4 separate regions of the Homo sapiens genome follow, and regions 2, 3 and 4 are each linked to region 1. The links are contacts of gene promoters, found by promoter capture Hi-C in human tissues and cell types (Jung and others, 2019). All regions are on one chromosome and are shown on one strand. Each heading gives the region's core, a stretch centred on a gene start or on the middle of the fragment in contact. The rest is flanking DNA. Distances are from core to core; before and after follow the strand shown. Region 1 holds the start of HAPLN1 (hyaluronan and proteoglycan link protein 1). Region 2 overlaps EDIL3 (EGF like repeats and discoidin domains 3). Region 3 overlaps EDIL3 (EGF like repeats and discoidin domains 3). Region 4 overlaps EDIL3 (EGF like repeats and discoidin domains 3).

Evidence for each region. The method cuts DNA at HindIII sites, captures the fragments that hold promoters and counts their contacts. A contact is called where the count stands out against the background at its distance.
Region 2: a contact is called between a fragment that was not itself captured here and the fragment with the promoter of HAPLN1 in region 1, in 1 of the 25 tissues and cell types used here (mesenchymal stem cells).
Region 3: a fragment that was not itself captured here is called in contact with the fragment with the promoter of HAPLN1 in region 1 in 1 of the 25 tissues and cell types used here (H1 embryonic stem cells).
Region 4: a contact is called between a fragment that was not itself captured here and the fragment with the promoter of HAPLN1 in region 1, in 1 of the 25 tissues and cell types used here (mesenchymal stem cells).

What each region holds. Positions count from the first base shown.
Region 1 is chr5:83,719,587-83,723,035 of GRCh38, forward strand. HAPLN1 (hyaluronan and proteoglycan link protein 1) reads right to left here and starts at 1,269. Exons shown (of 5, transcript NM_001884.4): 1 at 1,203-1,269. RefSeq lists a silencer at 2,854-2,913. The HindIII fragment of the contact is 27,926 bases long and covers 1-3,449 here.
Region 2 is chr5:84,161,271-84,164,478 of GRCh38, forward strand. All of the region lies in intron 4 of EDIL3 (EGF like repeats and discoidin domains 3), which reads right to left. Among named protein-coding and RNA genes, the nearest start is that of EDIL3-DT, 220 kb to the right of the region's middle. The HindIII fragment of the contact is 4,212 bases long and covers 1-3,208 here.
Region 3 is chr5:84,178,853-84,182,214 of GRCh38, forward strand. It overlaps EDIL3 (EGF like repeats and discoidin domains 3), which reads right to left. Exons shown (of 11, transcript NM_005711.5): 4 at 1,541-1,669. Among named protein-coding and RNA genes, the nearest start is that of EDIL3-DT, 200 kb to the right of the region's middle. The HindIII fragment of the contact is 5,639 bases long and covers 1-3,362 here.
Region 4 is chr5:84,121,965-84,124,977 of GRCh38, forward strand. All of the region lies in intron 5 of EDIL3 (EGF like repeats and discoidin domains 3), which reads right to left. Among named protein-coding and RNA genes, the nearest start is that of EDIL3-DT, 260 kb to the right of the region's middle. The HindIII fragment of the contact is 5,018 bases long and covers 1-3,013 here.

The sequences.
Region 1 (3,449 bases), core at 19-2,518:
GGTAAATGGAATTTGTTAACTGATATAAGAATTATGAATCATATCACATTAAAAATTCTCCAAAGATAACTACTATGATATACTTTTGATAGAACAATATTCCCATTCCATTAAAATACTGAAATGACTGAAATGTGTATAAAATCTCTGCAAATTTAGTACACAGAAATAATCACATAGAAATAGTTACCAGAAACTACAATTGTAATGAATAAATATTACATTCATTTAGAAATCAATCCACAGCCTTAATTTCTTAAGAACTATTAGCTTCCAAGAAGCCAGCCAGTATGTTTGATTTTATGACATCACACTGGAACATGTACAGGAACACTTTCCACCCTAAAAATTCCCAAATGTACTGGCCACTGTGTGTATTTTTCCAGTGATAAATGAAAATAAAGCAACTTATTCTCAAATTAATAAGCCATCTTATTTTGAACACAACAGTCACATTCAATGGAAGAAAACTACTTAATCGAAGCCCAAACAAGTTTAGGTTTGTTTTTGGTGGGGAACAGTCTCAACATACAAATAATTTCTTTAAGCAACTTTTAACAGTAATCTTAACTATGACTATAAATTCTCTTCAGTGCATTCAAATTATCCATCAACATCATTGTATATATGAAATGCATCATCATTCTATGATCTTAAGTTCATAATTAGCTGGAGAAGGAAGCCTGGGCCAAAAATGGCAACATTTCTAAGATTATTAATCTAACAGGTATTACCTATGCCTAAAGTAACTTTCTTTTTCACATAACCCTATATATTCTCTGAAACAAAATTCATAAGCCTGGCTGGACATTCCCATTCCTCACCTTTCCCTTCAGCCTATACTATCCTTGTTTCATCTCAGGTGCTATAAAAATGGTTGTTGAGATACAGATAGAAAAGTCACCACTTGGAAACCATGACCCTACCAGATTTACAGGAGCACTAGCAGAAGCTAAGATACTAGAGTTAATTCTTTCTCCATTTTTAGACTGAGCCTGTTTATTGTAGTGAAATATTTTATCCGACAATATGAAACTTTTTTAAAAGTTGAGGTGTCATATTAAATTCAAATGAAAACTAAACTCAAAAGAAAAGAATAAAATTTGTTTAATGTATATATACATTGCATGTGTATTGCCCTCTGAAATCTTAAAGGCACAAAGGTATAACCAAAAGAGGGGGAAACAATTTGCAAGTTTTACCTTGTCCTGAAATCCAGGAGTTCGGATGCTCTCAAGTTCTGCTTAAGTTGGAAGCTGGAGATCAAGTGAAGCTAGCGCTCTTTCTCCTCACCTTAAGTTTGTCTCTGGGCGAGTGTGAGAGTGTGTGTGTGTGTGCGTGTGTGAGTGTGTGTGCAGAATGTCTCTTTGTGGCGCTGGATGGCAGAGGTCCTGATCCTGGGAAGAAGGAGGCACTTTCTCACCAAGAGCAGAAGAAAAGCAAAGCGTCACCAGGAAAGTTCTCCTCCCAAATCCCCTAATTACAGCCTAATGTGCACTTCATGCAAACTTCAGGGAGGAAGGGAGGGGCAGCTCTGTGCCCAGACCTTGTAAAGCAGCAGCCTCTTAGATGACTTTCCCCTCTGCTCAGATCCCGAGTATCCCGCTCTGGGGTTTAGGAAAGCCGGCCGCTACAGCCACACAAGCCCCCACCACACCACACCTCCCGAACCCGAACCCTCATCAGTCCTGGGTCTGTCCAGAAGGGATGGGACAAGGGGTCTGTGGAATGATCTGCGGGGCAGCGGTGTGAGCAGACTCCTCAGGACAGTCAGTTTGCGCTTTGTTTTATTAGCCTCTGCTTAAAAGAAAAATCCAAGGGTCGGAGAGGTCCTCTCTTTCCCGCCTTCCCCTCACCAAAGGAGATCAAGGATAACAGACAATGATGATAGTGGCACATAAAGCTTCTTAAACTGGAGATGGCCTTCCACCCAAATCACCAGAAGCATATTTTCTGGTTTACTGGACTCAGTATTGGTGTTGAGTTTAAATTTCTCTTAACAAACAACTGCTATTGTATCCTTGGATGACAGAGCTCAAAGAACCTGGATTTATTTATAGAACGAGGAATGCGAGGGGGAGACGGGATGGGTGGGGTTGGGTTGTGGATCCATAACCAGGATTAGAACCAGATGGGCACAGGGCGCGCGCGCGCACACACACACACACACACACACACACACACACACACAGACACACACACCCCTGAAATAACCAGTGGGGAAGATGCTGGGACACGCGGGAAAACGCCTCCTGAACAAATAGACGTTTATTTATAACTTCTGGGAGAGTATATAGGTCCATTGATTCCCGCCTTGAGTAACCAAGGGTTTTGGAGAGGAAATGGCTTCATATTTCAATAACAGAGCCACCTTTGATGGAGTCTAGGAAGGGGAAAAAAGAAACACACCGCAGGAAGCAAACGGCTGTTGGAGCAGCCGGGAGGAGGGAGCGGGGCTGGCCCTGGGACTGAGGACAAGCAAACAAGCTCGAGGGGCCCGCGGCCAGGGTGGAGGCGAGACGCAGGCCGTCCCCGAGTTGCAGCGAGCAGGGCCCGGTGTCGCGGAGCGCTGGGGACGTGCGGGGATTCGCGGCCGTGCTCCCGGCTCCAACCTCCGGCCCCGGCGGGGCGGCGCGGGCGGGACTGCGGGCTTCTTAAGGCCGCCGCCGCCGCTCGGGCTGTGGCGCGGGTTGGGGAGAGGGTTCCGTGGGCCGTAGGGACTGAGGGAGTCGTAAGTCGATGAGCTAGTGGGGCAGGAGGATGGGCGGGTCCAGGGCGTCCTGGAGGTGCAAGGTGGGATGGGAGGACCTGAGGGGCAGCCAAGCTGCTGGGGAAGCCGCCGGGACGGGGGCTCTGGCCGACAATGCAGGTGGCCGGTGTGCAGATGAGCCAGCGCGCGGGGTGCGGCCGCCGGGATGCCCGATCCGAGTCGCGCGGGTGGCGGCGAGCGGCGCTATTGTCTTAAAGATAAAGCCTAAGCCACGGGGACTGCCTCCTCCTGGACTCTGGAGAGAGGCGGGAGAGATTGCAGGGGAAAAAAGGCTTCTTCCCGCGTCTTCTGAGAGATTTCACCAGTTCTTGCCTCTGGGCTCCCCCTTGCCATTCTGTCTTTGGTAAATCAACACGTGCCTCTTGGAAAGGTTTCATTTCAAAGACAAACGGAACACTCACACACCCTCCCTAAATGAAGACAGTTATATTCAAAATGAATTCTTCATCAGGCGTTCAACACCTTTCTTGGAATTCCAAAACCTGGGTGAGGGCGCTTCTCTTATTTTTCTGTTTCCCCTCCCGCACAGGGAACAGGTTTTGCAGTTTTATGTCCCTAATCTAGTGGCTATTGAGGCAGCTGTTATATAGGCCTCTACATTAACTGCCAATAAAAATAAGATACATCTCGGCTTTTCAACTATGCAAAGGGTTTTTATGCTATTCATATTTCTTGTAAA
Region 2 (3,208 bases), core at 413-2,912, 440 kb after region 1:
CCAACATAAAGAAGGAAAAAAATATATTCCTTTGACTAGCTTCAAGACGAATGCCTTTTTAAAACCTGGGTTTGTTATGACTAATGCTTAACTCGGGTCTAGTTATCTGGACAAATAATAAGATTACAGGACAACTGTAAGATAAAGATTCACCCCAACCAAAGAATGAGCACTGGGGTTTCTCATTAAAAAAAGAGCTTCACAGTCTATAATATTTCAAACAAAACAAAAGCATCCTTTACCTAATACTAGATATTTGTTTCTACCTGATCCTGAATCAAATCTTGAGGAAGCTGCCATTGTTTTTCTGATTATTTCTAGGTAATAAAAATGCCCTAAGCTTACTTTTAGCTACTAGACAATCGCCTGTACCTTCCTTACTAAAATAAGTCTAGTTTTGTAGCATCTAAAAATTCATAGTGATATCCAAGTTGGAACTCCTCATTCCCAGCTTAGGCCTACCTGGGAAAATTGCAGTGGAGAAGTGGGACCTCACCTAAAATTCACAGTCTGGGTCACAATGGAAACTCTCTTATGGGTCTAAATCATTAAAAGTTATCATAAGGCTAATAAATTATTTAAAACATTTGTCACCTATCTTTCTAACAATGTGGAAGACTAGGTTGGAATTTAGAACTCTAAATTTAGAACTAGGTTGGAATTTAGAATTTAGAATTGAGGACCATAAGAGAAACAGCTTTCAACCCACTCTTCTCTACAGATATCCAAGCCCAAGCACCTGATCACTGTCTTTCCCAAGCAGTAATCAGATATTCCATGGCATGTCACTGATCCCAGGTGTGTGCCCACTAGTGACACAGTGACACATGGGAGGACAGATATGGAGAAGGGGCTCACATGGGGCCTAGAAGTATGCTGGGTACCATTTGGGCAGACCATTCTGGGTTCTGGATTATCTTCAGCATGGTCTAGAAAGGGGAATAAGTCTCCAGGTGGGCATGTTCCCTTGTACCCATGGATGTCTTGCTCCATAGAGAGGAGTGGTTCCAGAAGAAAGCCAGAGCAAGATCTCCAATGTGAGATCCAGGACAAGGGGTCCCTCCTGGCAGTGTCTAAGGAAGGAACTGGGAAGTGAGTTAAGGCGATATTCTCTTCTCTCATTCCACCTTATCCTCCATTCTCTAGTTTCTTTTGACATCTTCAGTACCAAAGTGGATGAGATGAAATCCTTGATGGTCAGGTTGAAACATGGCTTTGGTGATCTGGATTTGGCAGATGTGCTTTGTGGGCTCTTTTTTTCCTGGGACAATGGAAGGTTCTGTGATGACATTTCATCACTGGGAATTCTTTACCTCTAGCTGCCTTCTTTTATGGGCCTTTATGCTCTGTGCCCTGGATCCCCTTGGAGCACCATGTTGATTGCACAGGGACCTTCTCTGGATTTTCCTCTTGGGCTCCCAAGATAACAGAGCTTCTTGGTTTTGAGAAGTCCACATCTGGCCCACAGGAAATCCACACATATTCTTTCCCTGCCATATTCTAGAACTGTACTCCATTCCCCATACCTTTCTCTGTCCTTGATCTGTATCCAGTGAGGACAGCTTAGGCCATAGCCCCTTGTCTTTGGGCCTCCCAAGAAAGGCACTGAAGCAGCAGTCCATATGTAACTGATTATATGACATCATCATAATAAAAGGAAAAGCTTAGTGTTTTATTTCTTTCTGACCTTCCCACAGTCCTTTTCTTCCTTTTTCAGTAATAACATACTTAATATCAATCATATTTTTAAAAGTAAATATTTAGGGAAAACAGACAGTGGGCTTTTAAATCGACCAAGACTCTTGAGCTTTGTATTTGAGAAAGCTTTAAAAATAAAAGTTGGGCAAGAAATTTGAACCTCAAAGAGTGACTCTACTTTTAGATGACAAACCCAAATCATGTTTAAAGTCCCTGAAAAACAGAAAATGACCAGGAAGTTCATTTTAAATATACTCTCTAAACCATTTGAGAATTGCAGGCCATAAACTATGGCAGAAAGATAGCTGGCAATAAATTTTTCCTCAATTTGGTTGCTCTGAAGAGGAAAGAGAAAGACTATGTTCTCAGACAAAAATGTCACTTACATTCCTATGAGACTATACCTTAAAGAGAAACTGAAATACGTTATATTCCTATGAGTTTAAAATATCAATTAAAAAATAAAGCTCACTAAGAATTAAGTTACTTTAAGGAAATAAGGTAATTTCATGTTTATTTACTTTTTAACATATAAGACCATCAATGCAAAAATACACTAAATATCTTGGATGACTTTATTAATAAAAAAGTCATGGATAGCTCAGAAATTCATCTAATCAAACTTAAAAGACTAATCAGTGCAACTTAAGATCAAAATCAGCCATGCTAGGTCAATCTATCTACGTAACTTAGAATAATGTTAGTAGTAAGGTATTAACATGGACATTGTGACATCTTTTATAGACAGAAAAATGCATAAGGAAAGTTTTAGCAAAACAAAACAAAACACATGTATAAACTTGCAGTTTAATTCATCTTAAATGAAGATACTGAGAATGATTATCCATACTAGAAAATGCTATCCATTTTCATCAAAATACTATCCTGTCATCAAAAGTATGATGTCATCAAATTCTACCTTATAAACTTCTAAACGGATTCCATTGCTTTACTGTATTTAAATATGGTGAATCATTTATACTAATACATAGCTCTTTAGAAGCTTGTAATAATTGACTGCTTTTAAGAAGGCCAACTTAGACCTCTGAAGCTGGCCATAAGGGACTACTGCTGTATATGCTGTGCTATGATTTTCTCATCATATATGCAGATACAACTGAGAGGGATCTGAAAAAATATTTTTTTTAATATATGCCCTGCTTTTTCCACAAATCAGTTAAAACGGTTTGCAGTAAAATCCCTACATATGAAGAGACGTAGATATAAAAATAAAAATAGGTATCCTAAATGATTGGGAAGAATAGGAACGTAGACTAGGATACTTACTGGATTTGAACATTAAGTTTGTCTATGTAGATAAAATAGCTTTTATAGTTCTCATTACTTGATGACATGGGTATCTTCATACTTCAGAAATTATAAATATGTGCTTCCTTGAATTTAAATAAAATATATTTAAAAATATACTGGTAAAATATGCCAGCACTAATTCATTCAATAAATATTTATAGTACAGCTACCATGTGACAGGCACCCTTGAAAGATATAA
Region 3 (3,362 bases), core at 458-2,957, 460 kb after region 1:
TTTAAAATCTTGTTGTGGGGGTGGTCAGATGTATTAAGGGGAAAGATTTCTTTGTGCTTTGAAATGTCTTGAAATTCAACAAAATTATATTAATTTATAAGCTTGTCTGAATATAGTATGAAGCTATATTTTATATATTGTTTGAACAGAGTATGAAGCTATAGTTTGAATATAGTATTTATAAGCTTGTTTGAATATAGTATGAAGCTATGAGAGAAAAGACTTGGGGTGGCCAGTCTGTTTCCCTCTGGGCACTGCCTCTGATGCCACATCACAGGGTAAGTAAGGGTAAGTAACATGGTCTTCATGGGATTAAGTGAACATCAAGGCTCCTGAGATTCTGGGCTCCTATCTTTATCTTTCCAGGGCTGTTTTGAAGTGTCCATGTGTGAAGGCTGAGCAGTGATGCTAGCTAGCATCAGGGAGACCTAGCCTTGGCACCTCTGGGCCCAACCTGAGAAAAATCAATAGCTTTTCATTGCTTTGTTGGTGATCTGAGCTTTTAGGGACAATTCCAAGTAGTTTAGATGCCCGTTGTACAAAGCACACACGCCCATGCACTACAATAGGTTTCTACGGAAATTCTACAAACTTCTGGCCATGGCATGTCTCCAGAAAAGTACAAGATGCTCCCAAAGTCACAGAGCCTGAAGGCACTCTGTTTTTTGCTGGTGCTTGGATACAGCTCTCGCTGACAAATCCAGCTTTGCCTTATCGTTCTTAATACCATTGTCTTACCCATCAATACAGTAATCATGGCTTGCCTATTCCTTCCCCACTCTTCCTACTATGTGTCATTCCCCTGTCTCTGATCAACATTCTGTCCCTCCTTCAAGACTCAGCTTGCATGTGGCAACCTCTGTGAGAATCTCCCTGACAGCTTAGAGTTGGCTGTGGCCCCTCTGCTTGCTGAACACCTACAGTGCTAAGGCACCACACCATTCCTTTGACATTTATGTTCACCCCTCCTTCTAAGAAGAAATCATCACTAGTGGGATCTACTTTCTTTAACCTTCCAAGATAAATAAGAATTGGGATTTAAAAAAGAAGTGCAGGTAGCATACTTATTGAGCTTTCAAAGATTTTCACACTAAAAATGCCAACATGTAAGAAGGAGAAAACTGGCTTAAGGGCAGGGTGGCAGTTTTGTGTTTTGTTTTTTTTTTTCTGGGTATCATCTCTGAACCTAATCACCAGAGTAATTTTTGGAAAACTTAAAGGATGTGGCTTTAGGACAAATATGAAAGAGACAGATATCAGTTTAATGTAAAGTGCATCTTTTGGCAAGGATAGTGGGGCAATAATAAAAAGGGATGACCAGAAGACTACAAACTTCCCATGCCACTGGGAGGATTGAAACACAGTCTAGGAGTCCTCCACTGTGGACATGGTGTATTCCATGGGAGAGAAGCAGCATTAGCCAAAGCCAGGGCTCTCTTCTGCTCTCAGATTCTATGATTCTACTACAAACAAGAATGATGATGGCTTGTATACTTTGTAATCAATAATAATAAAAGTACAATGACTATGAATAACTTACTGTGCTGACAGTGAATCCCATTAAATCCTCGGGGACATTTACAAACATAGCCTATGAATGTATCCCCTCGGTATGCTTCACTTATTTCACAGGTTCCTCCATTATGGCATGGATTAGGAGTGCAGGGACCTGAAAGACAGAAAAAAATATTTCTGCTTGATGCATATTCTTAAAAGTAGACATTAGGTCAACATTTTGCAATTAATAATTTTACAGAAAAAAGTGTTCTAGATATTAGTGGCATAGTAAATGTACTGGTTGTATGAGCTCTGGAGACTAATGGCCTGGGTTTGAATCTTGGTTTCACCACTTCACAGGCGTGCAGTCTTGAGAGATTTACTTACCTTCTCCATGCCTGTTTCCTTTTCTGTTAAATGTCAATACTAAAAAATTTGCCTTAAGAGGTTATAATACAGATGAAAAGAGTTCATACATATAAAATACCCAGAACAGTGTCTGTCACATGTAAAGTACTCAAAAAATTATTAGCATTAAATTAGATATTATTAAAATTTCTGAATTGTAGAATACCTTCTGGGTGTTTAAAAAGTAATATTGAATAGCAATTTCTGGAGTTGTATTCACAACTCCACAATTTTTGTCCCCTGCTGGTACAAGCAGCATATGGCTGTAACCACATAAACCAAGTGAATTGGATAGCTGGCTGCAAAGCTTTTATAGAGTATGAGTTTATGGTGGAGCATACCTCTGGGGAAGCACATTTTCTGCCAATCTAAAACGAGCAGTCCGTCAAAAGTTGCATACTTAGAGAAGAGGGGCTGATGGTCATTTTTAAACTTGAGAAAGTAACAGCAGATTATTTAGTACCTGTGGCTGCTAATGAAAGTGTGGTGCTGCTCAGAGCTCTCTTGGAGAAAACCAGCTGCCAGGAGTGTGGTTAGCTGACAACATTCAGCTACTGAACCACAGGATCTGCTGTGGCAGCATTTATTTTAAGGCCAGGCTCCCCAGCCAAAAACTAAATACCAAAGGGGCATAGAGCTAGCTGGGCCAGTCGTGCCTGACCTGAGACTTCTCTAATAAACATTCTGTACTCTGAGGTGCCCCAATGGTGTGGCTGAGATTTTTCTTAAAACCATAGCAGTTTGAGACTTTTTCTATGCCATGTTCTCTCCTTCCTTTTCTCCCTTCAAAGTGACAGGCTATGTCACGGTCTGTAGGCTCATCCTATCTACTCTTGCTCTCTCTCCCCTTTGTGCATCACAGACATTCCCCCCAAAAATCTTTTACACTTTTAATTCTATCTTACAGTCTTCTTCCTGCAGGATGTTAATTGACTCAGGACAGAATCCAGACTTGAGATTGTGAAGAAGGGAAGAGTCAAGTTGAAGGAAGGAAAAGCTCTCCCTGGGAGATGAAAAAAGACAAAAACAAAAAACTACAGTTTTCTCTAATTTAGTCTGTACTGATTTTAATTGGAGAGAGTAGAACATATTTATAAGGAAAAGAAAAGCCACTGAAGAGGAAGTTAAGATGTACATATTAGAAAAGGAAAGCAAGGGTAATTAAACTAAGTATCTGACTGTGTATGAAGAGGTGATTTTGAGAGCCCTAGAGGATTTGTTCAGAAAAGGAGTGAGTGTGTTCAGCTGAAACAAGAAGCAAGGTAGAAGAGCTGGACAAATGAATAATAATAACTTGAGTCAACTGGGTTGGGGCAAGGGTATTGAACAGAGAGTGCTATAGAGAATGACTCCTCCTGCATGGGTCAAAGCCACTAATAAAAACAAGAGCTGAACGAGGTGGTGCACGCCTGTAATCCCAGCACTTTCAGAGGCTGAGGCGGGCAGATTGCTTGAGC
Region 4 (3,013 bases), core at 132-2,631, 400 kb after region 1:
AAAGAGCCTGGAAGTAACAGCTGCTCAAAAACATCATTGATCAATTTAATTGAGGCAAACATAACAGACAGTATCTCCCTCTAGGATGGTTCTCTACCTTGCAATGCAAACTCTTGCAGCATTTTACCCATTCTCACCTCAAGTGCACTTCACTCTTGTATATCTCCTCATCCAATATCTTTCTCTTCTGCAACTAAGATAAGTAATATCTAAATGTGTTGATTCCCTTGTTTAGGTGGACTGTCCATAACTCTTTCCTGCTCCCCTTCCAAAGGTATGGATTTATCTTTTCTCTCACAGATCTTCCTAAAAAATACAAATGGAGCCTGCACATACATACTGCAGAGAAAAATATGTCAGGCATTTTGGCCTTAAAACAACCCCATGGAGAGTATCTTTTTATTATTATTATTATACTTTAAGTTCTAGGGTACATGTGCACAACGTGCAGGTTTGTTACATATGTATACATGTGCTATGTTGGTGTGCTGCACCCATTAACTCGTCGTTTACATTAGGTATATCTCCTAATGCTATCCCTCATGGAGAGTATCTTTATTTCCAATTGTAATTGAGGCAATTGAGACTCAGAGAGGTTAAGTAACTCCCCTAAAGTCTTACAGCCAGGATTTGAACCCAGGTACATCTATTACCAATGGGTCATGATAAACATTGTAATGACACGCTGGGGGTGTTCTGTTTGCTGCATATGCCTTAAGGAGTGTGGAGAAACTATAAAAAATGATGAGGAGGGCACTTAGATGTCTTGTTTATGAAGATGTAGGACAGTGATCTAACTCACTTTGTGTTCTCCGTCACCGTTGTTCTGCCGTGGTTGGACTAAAGATTCAACATGGACTGTTATTCATTCAACATTTAACTAATATTTATTGAGCCTCTTCTTTGTGCAAAGCAGAGGTATAACATTTAATACTTTAGTTTTCTAAGATTGAAAGTGATTTTACAGCTGAAGCAGGTTATTAGAAACTAAATTCAGAATAATTTTATAATGAGACATCTGTAGACTAGGAACATGGTGAACTGCCTACCTCAAGAACTTCTACAGCCTTATTTTTCCTCTCTCTCACTGTGTATTTTCTCTCTACAATTTAATAACTATTTTCACATTTCCTCTTTTAAGAAAGCCTATTACAGCATAGTGCATTTTTCTCTGTTTAAGAAAATGCCTCAGGATAAATTGTGGAGGCAATTATTTTCAATGCTAACATCTTCAAACATGAAACCAGCATCTGGGCAATTATGACATTAGTCTGATTTAGCATTAAAAGGTAAAAGTTTATGTATAAATTTCAAAATTTTAAGCATTATTTTATCAAGAATTTTGTGTCCCAACCACAGATCATTTTTGTTGCTGTGGTTAAATTTGTTTCTAATAGTCTTGTGTTTCATGTATGTACACAACAATCCTTAAATGAATAAGCAAATACCAATTAAACATTCATATATGCATAAACTTGGATTTTGCCTGTATATTTCTCTTTTCTATCATATTCACGTTAATGTAGAGCCAAGGCTCATTATCTGTGTCAACAGATTAGAAAGTAAATTGAGTAAAATAAATCAATTGATTATGTTTACTTCACACACCTTGCAATCATTTGAAAAGTTAGTTTTAACTCCCATTTCTCAAAAGCATGACTAATTAATAACATGAATTATTAACTGAAACATGATTTTTATAGGTTTTTACTTCTCTCTAGTACTTTATTGTTAAGGTAGAATACTAAAAAAACATCATTTCAATGAGTAATAAAAGCAGCCTTGTAGACAATTTACTTGTCTATCCAGCTCCTAAAATTTCAAAAACTGTATGTACTGTCATATTCTTGGAAGCAGTGGAGGTGTGACTAGAGTGAAAAACAGTAGTTCCTTTTTACTTACATGTTGTTAAAAAGTATAAGACCAATACTATGCAGTTTTCTACTATTTTTTCTTTTATAAAATTCAGTTTAAACTTGGATTAAATGTATCCAGTTGCCTGTTCATTATGTTTAAACAAGTGTTTATCTGCTTCCCAATTTTACACCAATCAAAATAGATGAAGGTAACTTTCTCCCTAGAGAATTCTTACTAAACTCAGAGACATCTTAGCCACTCGACTGCCTGAACTTATCAAATGCCCAACTTATCCAGGTATGCATAAAATACTTATGCAGGTATTTTAGGTATTACCAAAGAGAAAATTAAGTACACTGAAGAAACAATGTCTATTTTACCGACAAATTTTAGATCGGAAAAGGGATTTGGCCAACCAGACACAAGGGAAGACACGTTGTAGAAAGAACCAAGTAACAATATGTAAATATTATATGCATAGCCTCTGATGGTATGTTACATGTGTCGATTTAAATGAACTCCATTTTAGAATGAAATAAAATTGAATAATTAATTTTGTGGTTCCCAAGTATTCCTGTTCAGATATGGAATACTTTTGTAATCAGAAAACATGTTTAAGAAAATTTTAATGGACCTTTTGTTCAAAACAGGTGAAATGTCAACAGTTTTCCAAGTGAAAACTCTATCGGAGATGCTATTGTCACCTGCTAAGTGGCACAGAGATGCCCACTAGAAATTAATTGATAGATAATTGTGCATTAGAAAAATTACTTTATTCTTATCATATTGGCTTATCAACTTCATTGGACAGAATTTTATGTGTTACTTTGTATATTGTTAGGTTAATAATACTGCTACCCAAGGAACAAAAAAAAATAGTTTTACTTTTTATGATTAGACCAAATACCAGAAGGACACGGTTAATAGCTTTGTGGGAACTTTTGTAGTGTTTTGCATAATGAATGAACTCACCAAAGCTCCTATGACAAAATCCTCCTGACTACTCAAAAGGTTAAATGTGTATAAATAGATGACATTTTCCTATACTATGAAGAACAGTTGAATAATACTAAATGAATTGTTTTCCTTCTCAGGTACACTTATAAACTGACTGCTTTCTTGGTGTTAACCTTTTCATGCACAATCCCTTGAACTA